3 separate regions of the Homo sapiens genome follow, and regions 2 and 3 are each linked to region 1. The links are contacts of gene promoters, found by promoter capture Hi-C in human tissues and cell types (Jung and others, 2019). All regions are on one chromosome and are shown on one strand. The core of a region is centred on a gene start or on the middle of the fragment in contact, and the rest is flanking DNA. Distances in the headings are between cores, read along the strand shown. Region 1 overlaps LOC107984341 (a long non-coding RNA gene). Region 2 holds the start of RPS6KB2 (ribosomal protein S6 kinase B2). Region 3 holds the start of SPTBN2 (spectrin beta, non-erythrocytic 2).

Region 1 (3,493 bases), core at 147-2,646:
CAGTGGCTCATGCCTGTAATCCCAGGCACTTTGGGAGGTCAAGGCAGGAGTATCACATGAGGCCAGGAGTTCGAGACCAGCCTGGGGAACATAGTGAGACCCTGTTTCTATGAAAAAAAAAATTACCAAGTAAAAAATTTTTTAAAAATAGGAAAACCAGAAATCCTTTTTTTTTCTTTTTTTTTTTGAGATGGAGTTTCACTCTTGTTGTCCAGGCTGGAGTGCAAAAGCGCGATTTCGGGTCACTGCAACCTCTGCCTCCCGGGTTCAAGTGATTCTCCTGTCTCAGCCTCCCAAGTAGCTGTGATTACAGGCATGTGCCACCATGCCCAGCTAATTTTGTATTTTTAGTAGACATGGGGTTTCTCCATGTTGGTCAGGCTGGTCTCGAACTCCCAACCTCAGGTGATCTGCCCACCTTGGCCTCCCAAAGTGCTGGGATTACAGGCATGAGGCACTGTGCAAGACCTCAGAAATCCTTTCTAAAATAAGTTGTCTTCTAGTTTCCAAAGGGTATTCATGTCCATTAGTCCATTTCACTCCACAACAATCCTAGGAGGAAACAGGGCAGGAGTCACTACTTCTGTTTTATTTATATACATTATATATATAAAATATATATGTTTTAAATATATGTTTTATATATATTATATATATTTATATACATGTATTATGTTTTATATATATTATATATATTTATATACATATATTATATATAATATATATTTTTTTGAGACAGAGTCTTGCTCTGTTGCCCAGGCTAGAGTGCAGTGGCACGATCTCGGGCTCACTGCAACCTCCGCCTGCCTCCCAGGCTTAAGTGATTCTCCTACCTCAGCCTCCCGAGTAGCTGGGAATACAGGCATGTGCCACCGCGCCCAGCTAATTTTTGTATTTTTAGTAGAGATAGGGTTTCACAATGTTGCCCAGGCTGGTCTTGAACTCCTGACCTCAGGTGATCTGCCCGCCTTGGTCTCCCAAAGTGCTGGGATTACAGGCTTAAGCCACCGCGCCCAGCCTACTCTGTTTTATTAAAGAGAACTGAAGTTCTGACGGGTTCAGAACCTCTCACAAAGTGGCTGAAGGAACACCAGCTTTAGCAGAAACTGATGAAAGGTAGCGAATGCCCTTGAAGAAGATAAAAAAAGATCAGACTCATTGGGAGGGGCTAAACAGGTCTAAGTGCTTAAGCATTTGGCCCTTTGGGGAAGTGGCTGGAGCCCTGTATGACTGTCACCACCAACCCAAGCTGGGAATCTAGTGCAAGGTTGCAAACAGACCCTGAAACCCCAGGGTGCCAGAAACTTCCCCCAGCAAGCACAGGTGTAGCTGAGGCACAGGCTCTGCATCTTAGAGCTCCACTCTCGGGCACAGCAGGAAGTCCCACCCTTTTAGAAGTGAGAAATGAGGGTGGCCTGGCCCCAAAGCGAAGCTAAGGCTGCTAAAGAGCAGGTGGGGCCCAGACACTGCTGCAGTTGCCCCAACAGCCAAAGTACACCCCAGCGCTCAGGAGCAGTGGGTCTGCACAGCGGAAGGTGACATACCTGGAAAAGATGGCAGCAAGGAAGCATGGGGCCAGGGAGGGTGGTGGTCCCATGGTCCCAAGGAAAGCGTCAGCCACATTCCATGCAAGAACCTCATGTGACACCCATGTTTGATGATCCAAGAATCTGCAGGGCATTTCTGCTTCATTTTTTTCCCCCTGATCAATTCAGGTTCCAAACTCAAAAAAAAAAAAAAAAGAAAAGAAAAGAAAAAAGAAAGAAAACTTTCAGCTGGGCGTGGTGGCTCACGGCTGTAATCCCAGCACTTTGGGAGGCGGAGGTGGGTGGATCACCAGGTCAGGAATTCGAGACCAGCCTGGCCAACATGGTGAAACCCCGTCTCTACTAAAAATACAAAAATTAGCCAGGCACGGTGGCGGGCACCTGTAATTCCAGCTACTCAGGAGGCTGAGACAGGTGAATCGCTTGAACCCAGGAGGTGGAGTTTGCAGTGAGCTGAGATCGCGCCACTGCACTCTAGCCTGGGCAACAGAGCGAGACTCCAACTCAAAAAAAGAAAAAAAAGAAAACTTTCTATCACTTAAAGCTTATAATCACCCCCCAACACCCTTTAACCCTAGAAGAAGTTTTCTTTCTTTTTTTCTTTTTTCCCGGGGTGGGGGGTGCGGGTGGAGGGAGATGTTCAGGAAATGGTTAAGTAACAAAATCAGAGAGCACGGGATTGAGGTGATTAAGGGCAACAAATGGATGGTAAAGGAAAGTGGGAAAGCCATTCAGTCAGATGATACTGGGCCAGGAGAGTGAGATGAACATGGAGGAGGGGGTGGGCCAAATGATGGAGAGAAGGCTGGAAAGAAAGAGACTTCAGGAGGCAGGTGATGAGGAGAAAGAGGCAGCTGGAGTCAGGGAAGAGGGAAGAATAGAAAGCGGAGACACCAGGGTCGGGGGTCGGGGAGAGAAACCAGGAGTTAGGATAGGGAAGAGGGCCGGGTGTGGTGGCTCATGCCTGTTATCCCAGCACTTTGGGAGGCAGAGGGGGGCGGATCACCTGAGACAGGGAGTTTGAGACCAGCCTGGCCAACATGGTGAAACCCTGTCTCTACTAAAAACACAAAAATTAGCCAGGCATGGTGGCGGGTGCTTGTAATCCCAACTTCTCAGGAAGCTGAGGCAGGAGAATTGCTTGTACCCGGGAGGTGGAGGTTGCAGCGAGCCAAGATCATGCCATTGCACTCCAGGCTGGGTGACACGGTGAGACTGTCTCAAAAAAAAAAAAAAAAAAAAAAGGGAGGGGGAAGAGAATCGAGGAATAAGTCATCACACTTAATGTCTATGCAAACTCTTGACTCACATGAAAACTTCAAGTTTCTTAAATATTGAAGCATCTTTACTTAAAACCTTCCTTCCCTTCTTTTTTTTTTTTTTTTTTTTTTTTAGAGACATGGTTTCACTGTCACTCAGGCTGAAGTGCAGTGGCATAGTCATAGTTCATAGTCCAACTCCTGGGCTCCAGCAATCCTCCACCTCAGTCTCTTTTTTTGTTTGTTTTTTTTTGAGACGGAGTCTCCCTCTGTTGCCCAGGCTGGAGTGCAGTGGCGCGATCTCGGCTCCCTGCAACCTCCGCCTCCCTGGTTCAAACGGTTCTCCTGCCTCAGCCTCCTGAGTGGCTGGGATTACAGGCAGGGACTACAATGCTCAGCTATTTTTTGTATTTGTAGTAGAGACGGGGTTTCACTATGTTGGCCAGGCTGGTCTCAAACTCCTGACCTCATGATCCGCCTGCCTCGGCCTCCCAAAGTGCTGGGATTACAGGCGTGAGCCATGGCGCCCGGCCAAAGCTTTTTAGCCACTGATTATGCTACCTCCTGGGGAACCTTCACAACCAACTTCTCTATTTTAGTTTAGACCTACACTGTTTGGGACATCTTTACTTCCTCCTTAACATTTAAGGAGAAATTGGAAATAGTTTAGCTTAACCAGACTAAAGA
Region 2 (3,794 bases), core at 1,295-3,794, 310 kb after region 1:
ACAATCAGAACTCACACCCAAGGCCTGGTCTGACCCAAATTCACACCCACACATCCCCATCCAATAAGAATCCATACCCAATCTTTTTTTTTTTTTTTGAGACAGTTTCACTCTTGCTGCCCAGGCTGGAGTGCAATGGCACAGTCACGGCTCACTGAAACCTCTGCCTCCCGGGTTTAAGTGATTCTTCTGCCTCAGCCTCTCAAGTAGCTGGGATTACAGGCACCCACCACCACACCCAGCTAATTTTTGTATTTTTAGTAGAGACGGGGTTTCACCATGTTGGCCAGACTGGTGTCGAACTCCTGACCTCAAGCGATCCACCCGGCTCGACCTCCCAAAGTGCTAGGGTTGCAGGTGTGAGCCACCGCGCCCCGCCAAATCCATACCCAATCTAAAGTCACAGACCACATGTCACAGACAAGATTTGCTGTGTTGAGTGTGTTCATTCCTTCTTTCTTTTTTTTTCTTTTTTTGGAGACGGAGTCTCACTCTGTTGCCCAGGCTGTAGTGCAATGGCGTGATCTTGATTCACTGCAACCTCTGCCTCCCAGGTTCAAGCGATTTTCCTACCTCAGCCTCCCAAGTAGCTGGGACTATAGGCATGCACCACCACTCCCGGCTAATTTTTGTATTTTTAGTAGAGACAGGTTTTCACTATGTTGGTTAAGCTGGTCTTGAACTCCTGACCTCAAGTGATCCACCCGCCTTGGCCTCCCAAATTGCTGGGATCGCAGGCATGAGCGACCCTGCCTGGCCTAAGTTCATTCTGTCAACAGCGTTTTTGGTTTTTGCTGGGTGTAGTGGCTCATGCCTGTAATCACAGCACTTTGGAAGGCCAAGGCAGGAGGATCACTTGAGTCCAGAAGTTCAAGACCAGCCTCCTGGGCAACAAAACAAGACCTCCCCTCTAAAAAAAAAAAAAAAGAAAGAAAGAAAGAAAAGAAAAAAGATTATGTGATTATGTCATTCCAGTTACTTGGGATTTGAGGTGGGAGAATCACTGGAACCCAAGAAGTCAAGGCTGCAATGAGCCACGATCTTGCCACTGTACTCCAGCCTGGGTGACAGAGTAAGATCCTGTCTGAAAAACTAAACAAAACAAAGAAAAAAAAACCATAAAGTTTTTTTTTTTTTTTTTTTTTTTTTTTTTTTTTTTTTTAAGATGGAGTCTCGCTCTTGTTGCCCAGGCTGGAGTACAATGGCATGATCTTGGCTCACCGCAACCTCCGCTTCCCAGGTTCAAGTGATTCGCCTGCCTCAGCCTTCCCGAGTAGCTGGGATTACAAGCATGCACCACCATGCCCAGCTAATTTTGTGTTTTTAGTAGAGACGGGGTTTCTCCATGTTGGTCAGGCTGGTCCTGAACTCCCGACCTCAGGTGATCCGCCTGGCTCGGCCTCCCAAAGTGCTGGGATTACAGGTGTGAGCCACCGTGACCAGCCAGGTTTTCGGGTTTTATCTGTTTGAGACTTGGTCTCACTCTGCCGCCCAGCCTGGAGCGCAGTGGTGCAATCTTGGCTCACTGCAACCTCTATCGCCCGAGTTCAAGCGATTCTCCTGCCTCAACCTCCCGAGTATCTGGGAGTACAGGTGCGCGCCACCACACCCGTCTAATTTTTTGTATTTATAGTAGAGGCAGAGTTTCATCATGTTGGCCAGGCTGGTCTCCAACTTCTGACCTCAAGTGATCCACCCACCTCGGCCTCCGAAAGTGTTGAGATTACAGGTGTGAGCCACCGCCTCCGGCCTGTTTGTTTTTTTGAGACAGGATCTCACTGTGTCACCCAGCCTGGAGTGCAGTGGCACCATCATAGCTCACTGTAACCTTGAACTCCTGGCCTCAAGTGATCCTCCCAACTTGGCTTCCCAAAGTGCTACGATTACAGGCGTGAGGCATCGTGTCCGGCCTCAACAACGTTTTTTGAAGTGTCTATTCTGTACCAGGTGCCTAAATGTGCTTAAATTAAGAAGGGAGTAAACGCCAACAAAATCCCATATTTACAGGTCTATCACTGACCCCCAAAACCCTATTTAAGGCGGGAACCTGGCAACATAGCCTGGCAGTGAGCTGGCCACTCAGTAAATGCTCCGATTTGCAGGGTCCTCGAGCCAGAGGCACTTTGAGGAGACCCTGATGCAGCCGCCTCCCTTTCTGGAGTGAACCGAAAGCAACGCGACCTGCCTTTCATCACGCAGCCGGCCTGGCAGTACCCGTCTCCAACAGGGCTGGGGATTGCATTTACATTCACACCTGCATACACTTCCGACCCTGCTCCATCCAAACTCAAAACACCGTAGAACCAAAACGGGCTCCCAGAAAGCCTTGCTGGGAAGACCGAGGGTCCTGCGGAAAGGATTCTGCAGGCTGAAGGCTAGGCGCCTCGCCACTCTAGGACTACAATTCCCGAGAGGCCTTGCGACGGAAGCCATCTTTGTTCCCCACCAGGCTAAGCGATTTTCCGGAGGGGGAGTAAGATCCCTTGCGTCACCGGCGCGCGCAGCTGCCGTCGCGGAGAGATGATGTTTAGGTCCGGGACTGTCAGTCAGTGCGCGGCCAGGTACGGGCCGACGGGCCCGCGGGGCCGGCGCCGCCATGGCGGCCGTGTTTGATTTGGATTTGGAGACGGAGGAAGGCAGCGAGGGCGAGGGCGAGCCAGAGCTCAGCCCCGCGGTGAGTGCCCTGCCCTGGCGCGACTGGATCCTGGAGCCGATCCTGTCACCCAGCCGAGGCCGGAGCGGCGGCTCCGCACGCCCAGAGCGGGCTCCGACTCTTTGCAGACCCAGATCCTTCTCAGATCCCGGTCTCTATTAAGTTCTGATCCCACCCTCACCCCGACCTCTCTTCCAGAACCCCAGCCTTTTCTCCCGATTCTCCCTTTCCTGCCTTCGGTTTCTTCCCAATTCTTACCCATCCCCTACTAGCTGCCATCCCTGACACCCTTCTCTCCTGGGCCACGCAGTCCAACCTGAACGGGAGCGGGGAGGTATCCTGGCACCTTCCTTGGCTCTTACCCCTCGGTTTCTCACAGGACGCATGTCCCCTTGCCGAGTTGAGGGCAGCTGGCCTAGAGTGAGTGAGGGTCGTGTTGGGGGAGGGGGGAATGGAGTGGGGAAGGGGAACTGGGGAGCACTGGAGCCTTGTCCTCATTAACTCCTTGTGTCCGTAGGCCTGTGGGACACTATGAAGAGGTGGAGCTGACTGAGACCAGCGTGAACGTTGGCCCAGAGCGCATCGGGCCCCACTGCTTTGAGCTGCTGCGTGTGCTGGGCAAGGGGGGCTATGGCAAGGTAGGGGCGGGCGCACCCTCCTCCTGGCCTCACAGCCTCCATCTGGAGGCAGCAAAGGGTTCTCAAAACAAATTAGACTTGTGAATCAGCAGGGCCTCTAATGGGATTCAGAGCCAGAAACATAAAGGAGGGAAGGCCAAATCCTCTCCAATCGGACTTGAAATCTTCACTGCCCCACCCTTGGCAGGGCCTAGGCCTCCTGATCCCAAAGCCAGAGCTTCAGGGTGGGGCTTCTTGAAGATAGGATGTGGAGAGGGAAGTTGATCCTGTCTCCCCTGCCCTACAGGTGTTCCAGGTGCGAAAGGTGCAAGGCACCAACTTGGGCAAAATATATGCCATGAAAGTCCTAAGGAAGGTGAGTCACTCGTTCAGCCAACGAATACTGTGTGGCTGCCATTCCCAACATGCTGTACCAGGCTTTGGGAAGACAGCAGGGAACACAGTGGAGGAGGATCCCTGACTTTGGCGTTTGCTGGTTTATTGTCTGTTGTGATGTGTATTGT
Region 3 (3,680 bases), core at 1,042-3,541, 380 kb before region 1:
CAGAAGGAAGGAACAGCAAAACCCCGACCCACCTCTCAGACTGTGTTCCTGATCAATTCCCTCGGAGGAAGTTAGGAACTGGGCTGAAGAGGGGGACTGAAATTTTATTTTCTCTTCTAGAATCCTCCAGTTATGGCAGATTTATTCAAATATTCAGATTCTTCACTCCCTTGCTATCTCCCTTCCCCAACCCGGGGTCACATCAATTTCTCTAAGGGAAGAATGTAAACTCCATCCTATCTTCTCCTCGGCCAATCCTTTGCCTTTCTGAATAAGCCAAGAGGTTGCCCCACACCTCAAGCTAAGACACATATTTGGAACTCACTCTGCCCCTCTTCACCTTCAAGGAAAACTGGTTTGTTGCTACCTCTGCCCATACCTGAAACCCCCGGGCTCTCCAGCGTTGGAACTGTGGCTGCTCCGAGAGGGGGAGGGCAGACGACATGTAGCAGGTTAAGACCGGGGCAAACCTGCACCTCACACAAGCATGCAATGTCCTGGGGTCAATGGGGTAAAGTTCCAAGCGAGTGGAAGGTAAATCACGACTGTGGCACCGGAGCCGGAACACCCCCGCGAGCAGGCCTTGCTGGGTAGTTCCGTGCGGGGCGGACCGCACAGCCCTATCAGCTTCCTGGCCACAGAAACGCCGCACGCGGCCGCTTCCCCGCCGCCCGAAGCGTCTGCTTTCTCCCCGGGCCAGTTCCGGCCACCACAGCCAACCGCGTGCCCCTCTCCCACACACTGTGGGGGAACAGAAGGGAGCGCGTGGAGCCAGCTGCCAAAGAGGCGAGGAGGAGCCCACGCGGCTCCGGGGAGGAGGGAGCCCGGCTCCCGCAGTCCGCCGGGCAGAGGCGGCCGAGCGCGCCCCCAGCACCTGGCCCGGCGCCGGCCCGTCCGCCCCGCAGCCCCGGCGACGCGAGGGGCCGGCGCTGTCAGACCCGCTCCCAGCCTCGCCGCGAACGTGTCCGTCAGCCCTAACTGTTCCAGACTCTTCTCCCGGCTCCAGAGAGGCCCGAGTCCCCCCCCCTCGGCCTTGGCCCCCACCGCCCTCATCCCGGTACCTGTGTGGCTGGCACGGGACCCTCTCCGTCCCGTCCCCGCCTGCTCCCGCCCCGGCTCACCCCGGCCGCCGGGACCCGACCCCGACCCCGACCCCGACCCCGCCGACCGCACGCGGCCGGACAAAGCGCGCCGCCCCGCGGGCCGGGACAAAGCGGGCGGGGCGCCGGCACCTACCTCGGCGCGGAGCCGCGGCCGGGCGGGCGGGGGCGCGGCGGGCGGGGGCGCACCGGTAGTTGCCGCGCCTGCAGCCCGGCCGCGACGGGCGGTTGCAGGCAGCGGCCGGGCGCACGGCGGGCGGCGGGCGGGCGCTGTCACGGGGCGCAGGCGGCGCGGGGGGCGCGCGGGGCGGGCGGCGGCGGGGCGCGTGGCGGCGGCGCGCGGGCGCGAGCGGCGGGACTGCGGCGCCGCGGAAGGAGGACAATAGCCTCCCCCTGCCGCAGGCCGCCGGCTCCCGCGGGAGGCCCGGGACCATCTGGAGCCGGCGGCCCCGCGGGGCTCTGGGCGGGGCCCGAGTCGCCCCTTCCCCGCCCAGCGCCATGGCAACCGAGGCCCCTCTCGGTGCTCCCCGCCGCTCCCCGCCCGGGGTAGTTGACCTGCCTCGGGGCGAACGCGGCAGCAGCTCCGAGGCCGGCTGCCGACCCCCAGCCACCTTCCGTGCGGGGTCCCCCCAAAACCCCGCCTTCCCGTCCTCGCTGGTCCCTGGGTCCCCCACCACAGCTTACAGGTCTTGATCTCCCCGGTTCGGACACCTCACCTTTGTCCCTATTCTGCTTTTCCTCCAAAATCCGTATCCCCGAGACACGCGATCCTTCCTCTAATGACACTGCCGACGAGGTTTCCCGAGATCCAGCCTCCGTTCCCCTTTCCTCTCCGGGCACCTCCAGTCCGTCTCCGCTAAGCATTCCTCTCACCCGTCCCCTCGCTCTCGCGTCCTCCTTCAGGCAGCTGGGCCGGCTCTCCCTCCCAGAACATCTCCATGGCACAGTGAAGATTCGTCTTCTACAGATCAGATGCTCCAAACAGGCATCTCAGCGCTTCTCAGCTCCTCTCATTTATCAACCAGGAGAATTCCGGCCTAGTCACCGTCTTGAGGGGGGTGGGGGTGGGGGCAGACATTTCTAGGCCTGACACGGCTGGGTTTCTCCTTGGTTTGTTAGCGTCTGAGTGGTCTAAGGTCCAAGGTCCTTAACCAAGGTGAACTGCTGCCTGCTTAGGAGAGGAAGGAATTATGCCCAAATCATGACAAACTCACAGAGTGCCAGGTGGGTGCTAAAAGCGCATCATCTCATGTGACACTCCCACCCCCACTCCAGCTCTGAGAAGTAGGTGCTGTTCTTCCAGATTAGAGAACTCAGCTCAGAGATGAGCCAGTGGTAACAGGGTGAGCTTTGTACAGAGCCGTTAGGTTATGTACTGCCCCTGAAGATGAGGGCCCGTTTCTATCCAGGGAATGCCTGAAATGGTCAAGTAAGGGCACTCAAAGAATGGGCTTTGAGTGAATTATTGGATTTAAGGTTTTATAATAGATTTATGGGTAATTTAGGATTTTGCTCCTTTCTGAAAAGGTATGCATACTGAAACAAATATGTGCAATTGAAGTACTTTCCAGATATGGTTTTGACAACCCTAACTAGTGGTGTCATCTACCTCGCCTTGGTTTTCCTAGTCTATAAAATGGGTTGGGAGGAGGGTTGGGGAGTTCCATTGAAAGATTACTTTGAAGTTCTCTCCTAGCTCTGATATCTGTGCTTCTACCACGAAACTGGAACTGGCTCTCTGGTGTGTACCTCACAGTTAGCTGCATTTGAGGCTATTTATTATTATTATTATTTTGAGACGGAGTCGTGCTCTGTCACCCAGGCTGGAGTACAGTGGCTTGATCTCGGCTCACTGCAACCTCCTCTTCCCGGGTTCAAGCAATTTTCCTGCCTCAGCCTCCCGAGTAGCTGGGATTACAGGTGCATGCCACCATGCCCGACTAATTTTTGTATCTTTAGTAGAGTCAGAGTTTTGCCATGTTGGCCAGGCTGTTCTTGAACTCCTGACCTCAGGTGATCTGCCTGCCTCAGCCTCCCAAAGTGCTGGGATTACAGACGTGAGCTGCCGTGCCAGGCCTGAGGCTATTTATTATTTTTAATAGCCACTCTTTCAGGCAATGGCATTAAAGAAACAAGGGCATAAACTGCAACTCTTCCCAGAGGTAGGATTATGTGTTGGTTGGTTCGGGGGAAGGAGGCACCAACCTGTGCATGACGGTCATCAGGGACACTTGGTCAGGGACATTAAAGCTGATGGGATGAGAATCAGCTGCCCATGGCCAGGCGCAGTGGCTCACCCTTGTAATCCCAGCACTTTGGGAGGCCGAGGCAGGTGGATCGCGAGGTCAGGAGTTCAAGACCAGCCTGGCCAACATGGTGAAACCCCTTCTCTACTAAAAATACACAAATTAGCCAGGCGTGGTGGTGGGCATGAAATCCCAGCTACTCAGGAGGCTGAGGCAGGAGAATCGCTTGAACCCGGGAGGCAGAGGTTGCAGTGAGCTGAGATTGTGCCACTGCACTTCAGCCTGGGCAACAAGAACGAGACTCCATCTCCAAAAAAAAAAAAAAAAATTAGAG

Evidence for each region. Contacts are between HindIII fragments. The study calls those that stand out against the background at their distance.
Region 2: the fragment with the promoter of RPS6KB2 here is called in contact with a fragment that was not itself captured in region 1 in 1 of the 25 tissues and cell types used here (dorsolateral prefrontal cortex).
Region 3: the fragment with the promoter of SPTBN2 here is called in contact with a fragment that was not itself captured in region 1 in 1 of the 25 tissues and cell types used here (dorsolateral prefrontal cortex).

What each region holds. Positions count from the first base shown.
Region 1 is chr11:67,112,104-67,115,596 of GRCh38, forward strand. LOC107984341 (a long non-coding RNA gene) reads right to left here. Exons shown (of 2, transcript NR_160735.1): 2 at 189-552. Among named protein-coding and RNA genes, the nearest start is that of KDM2A, 5.4 kb to the right of the region's middle. The HindIII fragment of the contact is 5,381 bases long and covers 1-3,493 here.
Region 2 is chr11:67,425,950-67,429,743 of GRCh38, forward strand. It overlaps RPS6KB2 (ribosomal protein S6 kinase B2), which reads left to right and starts at 2,545. Exons shown (of 15, transcript NM_003952.3): 1 at 2,545-2,674; 2 at 3,033-3,073; 3 at 3,171-3,291; 4 at 3,578-3,646. The coding sequence starts at 2,597. RefSeq lists enhancers at 2,089-2,238, 2,255-3,022, 2,339-2,588, 3,023-3,790. The HindIII fragment of the contact is 10,585 bases long and covers 1-3,794 here.
Region 3 is chr11:66,726,925-66,730,604 of GRCh38, forward strand. SPTBN2 (spectrin beta, non-erythrocytic 2) reads right to left here and starts at 2,292. Exons shown (of 38, transcript NM_006946.4): 1 at 1,817-2,292. The HindIII fragment of the contact is 42,487 bases long and covers 1-3,680 here.